Linked DNA regions of Homo sapiens: all the other regions are linked to region 3. The links are contacts of gene promoters, found by promoter capture Hi-C in blood cells and fetal thymus (Javierre and others, 2016). All regions are on one chromosome and are shown on one strand. The core of a region is centred on a gene start or on the middle of the fragment in contact, and the rest is flanking DNA. Distances in the headings are between cores, read along the strand shown. Region 1 overlaps LOC105373883 (a long non-coding RNA gene). Region 2 overlaps STK36 (serine/threonine kinase 36). Region 3 holds the start of CFAP65-AS1 (CFAP65 antisense RNA 1).

The links. The method cuts DNA at HindIII sites, captures the fragments that hold promoters and counts their contacts. A CHiCAGO score of 5 or more calls a contact.
Region 1: a fragment that was not itself captured here is called in contact with the fragment with the promoter of CFAP65-AS1 in region 3 in 1 of 17 cell types (M2 macrophages); the score reaches 5.6 in M2 macrophages.
Region 2: a fragment that was not itself captured here is called in contact with the fragment with the promoter of CFAP65-AS1 in region 3 in 2 of 17 cell types (M2 macrophages and M1 macrophages); the score reaches 7.4 in M2 macrophages.

What each region holds. Positions count from the first base shown.
Region 1 is chr2:219,364,493-219,367,192 of GRCh38, forward strand. All of the region lies in intron 1 of LOC105373883 (a long non-coding RNA gene), which reads right to left. Among named protein-coding and RNA genes, the nearest start is that of DNPEP, 22 kb to the right of the region's middle. The HindIII fragment of the contact is 3,139 bases long and covers 1-2,700 here.
Region 2 is chr2:218,701,227-218,703,926 of GRCh38, forward strand. STK36 (serine/threonine kinase 36) reads left to right here. Exons shown (of 27, transcript NM_015690.5): 27 at 640-1,489. The coding sequence ends at 783. Among named protein-coding and RNA genes, the nearest start is that of TTLL4, 8.3 kb to the right of the region's middle. The HindIII fragment of the contact is 889 bases long and covers 940-1,828 here.
Region 3 is chr2:219,000,769-219,003,468 of GRCh38, forward strand. CFAP65-AS1 (CFAP65 antisense RNA 1) reads left to right here and starts at 1,447. Exons shown (of 3, transcript NR_046086.1): 1 at 1,447-1,532. CFAP65 (cilia and flagella associated protein 65) reads right to left here. Exons shown (of 35, transcript NM_194302.4): 34 at 2,367-2,504; 35 at 2,078-2,253. The coding sequence ends at 2,169. MIR375 (microRNA 375) reads right to left here and starts at 940; the gene lies at 877-940. RefSeq lists an enhancer at 1,219-1,513. The HindIII fragment of the contact is 13,795 bases long and covers 1-2,700 here.

The sequences.
Region 1 (2,700 bases), core at 3-2,502, 360 kb after region 3:
GGGACACAGACAGGAATCTGAACACATGGGCCTTGTTAAGTCTTTTGGGTAAATAAAATTAGTTTTAAGATTGTTGGCAGGCTGGGCGCAGTGGCTCACACCCCTAATCCCAGTGCTTTGGGAGGCTGAGACAGGAGCATTACTTGCGCCCAGGAGTTTGAAACCAGCTTGGACAACATACTGAGACTTGGTCTTTACAAAAAGTTTAAAAAGTAGGCCGGGCTTAGGGGCTCACGCCTGTAATCCCCGCACTTTGGGAGGCCGAGGTGGGTGGATCACTTGAGGTCAGGAGTTCAAGATAAGCCTGGCCAACATGGTGAAACCCCGCCTCTACTAAAAATACAAAAAATTAGACTGGCGTGGTGGCAGGCGCCTGTAATCCCAGCTAGTTGGGAGGCTGAGGCAGGTGAATCCCTTGAGCTTAGAAGTTCAAGGCTGCAGTGAGCTGTGTTCACACCACTGCAATCCAGTCTGGGCAGCAGAGTGAGACCTTGTTTATATAGATTAAAAAAAAAAAAAGCCAGGTACAGTGGCTCACGCCTGTAATCCTAGCACTTTGGGAGGCCGAGGCAGGTTGATCACAAGGTCAGGAGTTCAAGACCAGCCTGACCAACATGGTGAAACTCCGCCTCTACTAAAAATACAAAAATTAGCTGGGCGTGGTGGTACACACCTGTAATCCCAGCTACTCAGGAGGCTGAGGCAGGAGAATCACTTGAACTCAGGAGGCGGAGGTTGCAGTAAGCCAAGATGGCTCCATTCCATTGCACTCCAGCCTGGGTGACAGAGCCAGGCTCTGTAAAAAAAAAAAAAAAAAAAAAAAAAAAAAAAAAAAAAAATTGTTGATAAAATAAAAGCAGAAATGTCTTTGGAGTTGTCAGCATTAAATAGAATGCAGAACTACAATTTTATTTTACCTGGGTTTACTGGTCAAACAATGTTATATCAACTAGATGTTTAAGGTTATAAAACTATAAATCTAAACTAAGAATAAAATATACAATAAAAATAAATTGCTTGATGCATATCAAGCATAGCAGTTTTTAAAAAAAGACAGAGAAGAACCATATATTTAAATTTTTAGGTTTTTTGCTTCTGTTATTTTTTTTTAAACAGGGTTTAGCTTTGTTGCCCAGGCTGGAGTACAATGGCATGATTATGGCTCATTGCAGCCTCAACCTCCCAGGCTCGAGCAATTCTTACCACCTCAGCCTCCCAAGTAGCTAAAACTTCAGGAGAATGCCACCATGGACAGACAATTTTTGTATAGATGGGGTTTGGCCATGTTGCCTAAGCTGGTCTCGAACTCCTGGGCTCAAGGGATCTGTCCACTTCGGCATGCCAAAGTGCTGGGATTATAGGCGTAAGCCACCATGCCTGGCCATTTTTTACACTTACCTGATTTGTCAACAAGAAAAATAACTTGAGATGATGGCTAGCTTTGTTTGATGTTACAGTATGTCTGCCTGAATCAGTTTCCAAATCTTATTTGGTAACTTGCAAACTTAAAGTTAGGTTAAATTAAGCAGTAGATATTCATTAAATGTCTGAACCATTTGTAAGTAAGATAAACTACTGAAACATTAACTACTAAGCATAAATTTAAGCGTATATACTTCTGGCATCTTATTTTTATATGATATAGAGAAGCTAAATATATTTGGGTCTACTAATAAGCATGTTCTTTGCCACACTGAAAGACTGTACTATATTAGGAAGCATATGTTCCTGAAATTATAAAATAGTATATTCATAAATTTACTAATCTACTACAAGATGCCGATATATGACAGGCAGTTCACAATTGCCTGCTTCCTAGTTTTCACAGCAAATTAGGGTCACTAAGGGTTAAAACTTATAATAAGTATACATAAATAAAACAATTAGACATCATAGGATGGAGGGAAACAACTTTGTATGCAAAGTATGCAAGGTATGAAGAAATTATTATTATTATTATTATTTGAGACCGAGTCTTGCTCTGTCACCCAAGCTGGAGTGCAGTGGCGCGATATCGGCCCACTGCAAACTCCACCTTCCGGGTTCAAGCGATTCTCCTGCCTCAGCCTCCCTAGTAGCTGGAATTACAGGCACATGCCACCATACCCAGCTAATTTTTGTATTTTTAGTAGAGATGGGGTTTCGCCATGTTGGCCAGTCTGGTCTCCAATTCCTGACCTCAGGTGATCCGCCCGCCTCGGCCTCCCAAAGTGCTGGGATTACAGGCGGGAGCCACTGTGCCTAGCCAGCCGTGGGTTTTTCATAGATGCCTTTATCAGGTTGAGCAAGCTCTTTTCTATTTCTGAATGTTGAATATTTTTATTATGAAAGGGTTTGGGATTGTACCAAATGCTTTTTCTGCATCAATTGAGATCATGTGGGTTTTGCTCTTTATTCTATAATATAATGTATTACATTAATTAATTTTAATATGTTGAAGTAAACCTGCATTCTTGGGATGTCCACTTTATTATAGTACATTACCAGCCTGGCCAACATGGCGAAACCCCATCTCTACTAAAAATACAAAAATTAGCTGGGCGTGGTGGTAGGTGCCTGTAATCACTGCTACTCAGGAGGCTGAGGCAGGAGAATTGCTTGAACCTAGGAGGCAGAGGTTGCTGTGAGCCAAGATTGCGCCACTGCACTCCAGCCTGGGCAACGAGTGAAACTCCATCTCAAAAACAAACAAACAAAAAA
Region 2 (2,700 bases), core at 134-2,633, 300 kb before region 3:
CGGGTTCACGCCATTCTGCCTCAGCCTCCCGAGTAGCTGGGACTACAGGCACCTGCCGCCACACCCAGCTAATTTTTTGTATTTTTTTTTTTTTTAGTAGAGACGGGGTTTCACCGTGATAGCCAGGATGGTCTCGATGTCCTGACCTCGTGACCCGCCCGCCTTGGCCTCCCAAAGTACGGGATTACAGGCATGAGCCACCTTGCCTGGCCGATGGTGAAGATCCTATAGGAATCTTGTGCAATCCATGGGGAAAATAATTAATGGGATTCTTGGTGGTAATGAGGTTAGAACTCACTGGTCTGCATTGAAGGCTAGGAATTAGACCTTTTGGCTTACTGTGAGTTACTGCTGCATTCATCAAGTCTTCCTGGGGACAAGTATATGTGTCCCTTAGTGCCTTGGTTTCATGGTCTATAACCAAAGAGAATGGAAGTAGACTTCTGGTCCTGATGATTCCTATCTCCAAGGTTTCTCTTCTGCCATTCAGTCTATTCCAAGTCCCCAAGAGCCCATTTCCTTTTTCTTCCTCTTCTCGAGTGGGAATTCCTGGGTAAATGAGAGTCCTCCGCACCTGCCCCAGACACCACCATTTCTGAGCCTCATGTTCTGTTCTATCATCTGTTCTCTATCCTACAGGTACTGGTGTCCCTGGGTGCCAGTGAGAAACTATCCTTGCTCTCTCTGGGGAATCAGTCACTGCCACACAGCAGTCCTAGGCCTGCCTCTGCCAAACACTGCAGGAAACTCATTCACCTCCTGAGGCCAGCCCATAGCATGTGATTCCAGATTCCTGCGGTCCAGCCTCCAACTTTGGTTGCCAGCTCTTTCTTATTCTACTACACAAGCCGCCAACTCAACTGAGAGCTAAAGAGACTAGAAAAGAGATAAGCTGCCAACTCAACTGAGAACAAGAAACTAGAAGAGATTTATATATAAAGCTTCTTCCTTCTCCCAGATGCAGGATGTTTTCAACCAGTAAATTTTATTGCTGTTGGTGCCAGAGAAGAGTCCTTTCTTCTCTACATCCAGGGGCCTTTTCTCCAATAATGTGCCTTTAACTCTAGGGACCTGCCTCACGGACCTTAGGGAAAAACCTCAACCTGAAAGATCTCTTCCTTTCTGGAGCTCCTTTAATCTTCCCAGCAGGTTTTTGCCTTAGACGTGCTGGCCCCAGGACAGTGATGAAGACAGAGCCTGTCTCAGCTCTAGGCTGTGGGGATCAATGCCATCAGTCCCTGTTATTGAGGGATTATCCCTTAGCCAACATTCCTATCTGTGGGTGGGCGTGGAGAGTGTATCTTTTTTTGGGGTGTGTGTGTATATGTGTGTGTGTATGTGTGTGTGTGTTTAATAGTTCTGTTTGTAAACTCTTTTAATAAAAGTTGTGCCTCACCATACTTGAAGCTCCCAGGACAAGGGTTGAGAGGCTCAACCCCTCTTTCAGCTTCTATGTGGTGTTGGAGGTGCTGGTATCGTGTTCACACAAGATCCTGGTCTGGCAGCTTATTTATATCATTTCTTGCCTTTACCAATTTCCCCCTTCCTAGATGAACTATATTTGGTTACCTACTTTCAAGTCAAGGCCGGTGGAGCTGAAATAGGAAAGGGTAAGATTCAACAGAGCGGTCAATTAGGTTGCTCAGACTTAGTGACTAATTTTAATATTTAGTGGAGTTCTAATGTGTAGGGACTCCAAGCTGCTGTAGAAGGATAGCTATTTTAAAGATTGTACAATTTACCAGAAAGGGCTTTTAGTCAGACCTGTTAGAATTATAATCTAACTGGAAGCATTGGAAAACCTTAACTCATTGGATGGCTTAGAACAAGCTTCCAGGGCCTTGATTTCTCCATCCATAAAATGAGGAGACTCCTTTCTGTCCTTCCTTAAATTCCAGTTGTTTTAGAAATGAAAGACAAGTAAAGTGCCCTTATTTTTATAAGAAATTTTGTTTAACCCTCATCTTCATTGTCCACAGTGTTTATACTTTAGCAAAAATAATATTTTTCTAGGGAGCACCATAATTTTCTTCTATCCAGATTATCTCAATTCAGTTCAATGTATATTTTTTGAGTCCTTTCTGTATGCCAGATACTATTCTAGGTACAGGAGATAAAACAGTGCCCATCATAGAGTTTCCATTCTGGTCGGGGAGATAGTGAAATTATTAAAAGAATAGTATGTAGGAAGGTGGTAAAAGCTATGGAGAAAAAGAAACCAGGGAAAGGAGATGAGGAGTGCTGAGTCGGATGGTCAGGGTAGGCCTCACTAGAAGGTGACACTTGAGAAAAGACTCGAAGGAGGCGAGGGAGTGAGTTGTGCACCTATTTTGGGGAAAAGCCAAGGCCCTGAGATGAAAGCATGCCTGGCATGCTTGAGGAGCTATGAGGAACCAGTATGGATTAAGTGAGTAAAGAAGGTGGAGAATAGTAGGAAATGAGACAGGAAGGTAATGGTGGGGGCCAGATATTGTAGGCTTTGTAGACCTTGGTGAAGACTTGGGCTCTTACTTTGAATGAAGGAGGCATCTATTGCAGGCTTTTGAACAGAGAATTTTATGAACTACCTTGCATCCTAAACGGATCATTCTTCATTCTGGTCTTGTGAATGGCTATGGGGAGTAGGGGAGAATGCGAAGTAGGATAAGCAGTTAGGAGGCTATTGTTATAATAATCCAGGCAAGAGACAATGGTGTCCTG
Region 3 (2,700 bases), core at 197-2,696:
GTTGGGTGACATAGGGGCACTAGAGCGGGTGGTGGTGGAGGGGACAATCCAGCACCTCTAGGAACATGCAGTTTGGAGGGACTTCTGACCCTGGTTCCCATCTCCCGGGGCTGCCTCTGCCTGAGCTGAGGGCCACCTACCTACCCCACCCCAGCTGATGGAAGCGAGGATGTGGGATTCTGAGGTTTGAGGAAGGTGGTGAACCGCTGTGCCTGGGGGCTTGTCCTTTTCAGTCAGTCTGACTGTCTCAGACGTTTTTAGACTGAAAGAGGGACCAAGGGAGTGTCAGGGAGTGACATCTCAGGATGTCAGCAGCACCACAGAGATCCGAGGAGTGGATTTGAGGCTCCATGGTGGCCCTCAGCTTCCCCCGCCCAGATTTTCCACACCTCAGCCTTGGCTCCAACTCCGTGAGGGCCTGCATCTTCCCCAGCATGACCAGGAGCCCAGGAACCGGGACAGGAGGCTGGGGAGGGCCTAGCCCCTGCGGGAGGCCAGACCAACCGTTCACTGAGCAAATGGGAAAACCAAGAGGCCGGGAAATGACTTGCCCAAGGCCATAGAAGTCGCGGGGACAGAGGCGGACTAGAATCCGGGTTTCCACCTCCAGAAGGGTTTCTGTTCTGGGCCACGGCCCCCTTCGCCACCCGCTGGAGCCGGCTCAGCCCGTATTACGACGCAGAATGGAGCCTGGCAGCCCAGAAGCTGCGGGCAGGGCAAGGCAGGGCGGGTGGGGCCGGATGGGAGCCGGATCTCCCCTGGAGCGGCGCACAGCCTCTCCCACCCGTACGGTTGAGATGGCGGTGGCGGTGGCGGCGGCAGGTGCCTGCGTGGCGATCAGGCCGGCCCCCGGGCTGGTGCTGAGAGGCCGCCCCTGCCTCACGCGAGCCGAACGAACAAAACGCTCAGGTCCGGTTTGTGCGAGGGGCTCGTCGCGGGGCGGGAGCGGAGGGCCCGGGGCCTGGCGGTCGCCCTCGGTGATCTCCTGGTCCTGGTCTTCCGCGAGCTCAGTGCTGCACAGCGCCCCGCTAGCCTCCGCCCTCACCTGAACGCATCTGCGGCTGACACGTCGGCGGCCGCGGCGGCCACCGCAGGTGCGCACCTGGCCCGCCCCTCCTTTCCCAGCCACCCTCCGCCCGGCTTTCCTGGCCCCTCCGCCCGGCCCAGCCTAGCTTGGCTTCGTCCCCAGCCCACGCCTTGGAGCTTGTCCCGGAGCCCGGGCTCCGTGTGCTCTTATACTGCCTGTTCAGTCCCCGCCCCCAGACACACACACTCACACCTGTCCAGGCGCCCGTTTGCTCGGGGCAAATATTGACTCATGGAGGCGGAGCGCTCCCCCCTCCCCCGCCCGGGCTCTGAGACCGGAGCTTCTCCGAGGCCTTGGTGGCGGGGGCGGAGGGGAGGGTGCTGGGGACCCTGGGCGCCTCTGGAACAACACCAGATGTCACTTTTCCACCCACCTGCCTCTGGGAGGGAGGAGCCGAGAAGCAGAGGACAGAAGCTCCCGGGCGGGGGTTAGGAGGAACCGAGAGGTGGGTATCCATCCTCGTCTGAGGACTGATTCACAGTGGGAGTCGCTTAGCAGGGTCTGTGGCCCGAAATCCAGTGGTGACCTCGACCCGCCCCAGCCTAGTTCCTGGCCCTCCGCGGCGTGCCTCAGTTCTTCCTCCCCAGCCTCTTGGGCACTCGGAGCTCGGCAAATGCTAAGGGGCTGGCCCTGGGGGTGCTAAGCCTCCGAGCAGGCGCGGCGCGGAAAGGTGAGGGGTGGCCGCCCTGCCCAGTGGACACCTGCTTCGCTGGCCAGGCCTGGCACTCAGTTACTGTGCACCAAGGTGCGCTGGGGCAAAGGCCAGCCAGGCCCCGTCCGGAGCGCCCTCCACTGGCCAGACCCGGTCCAGCGGCCGGCAGCTAGCGGCCAGGTCTCAGTCCAGCTGCAGTGTGGGCGGAGAGGTGCATCCTCCCGGGCCCTAAGTTCCCGCCGCGCCTCTGCAGTCCGCCCGGGCTGCTCCCTGCCATCCTTCCCTCTCAGAGCTCGCGCGCGCGTTCCCCCTCGTCGGGGAAATAAAGTCAAGGTAGATACAGAAAAAAGACTAGATGCTTTTACTGGCGGTGGAGAGGGGGCCAGGCGTGACCCCTAGCGGCATGTCGGAGAGGCTGGGCGCGGGCATTTACGGAAGGTCGGTAGGAAGTGGCACCACCGGGTGGAGTACCTCTGCTTGCTGCGTCGGCAGCAGCGTGTCCGGGGTCAGACTCCTGGAAGACAAAAAGTCCCAGGTAGGCGTGGGGGCGAGGCTTCGGGCAGAGCCTGGCTGCCCCCGTGGCCCCTCTCGCGCGGTCTGCGCGGCCGCTGGTCCCGGCGCCCTTACCTGGGCACGCAGAACGGCGGCAGGGCGATGACGCGTGGCCGCGAGGTGAGTACCACCTCCCCGCGGCTCGCCTCCACCAGGATGTTCTGGATCATGTTCTCCAGCAGCGCCTCCTGCAGGTTGGCGAAGGCCGGGAGCCTGCGAGGGGGCGGGGGCTAGCATGAGGGCGGCCGCAGTGCCCGCGCGCCTCCTCGCTCGCCTGTCCGTGCGGTACATTGTGCCGCGAGCTCTACGGAGATTCCCATTCGACTCCCCTCATCCACTACACTATGGGGCATTCTTGTTTCAATGTTACGGACGTTCCAAGTGTGGCTAAAAGATTCCAAGTTGCCAA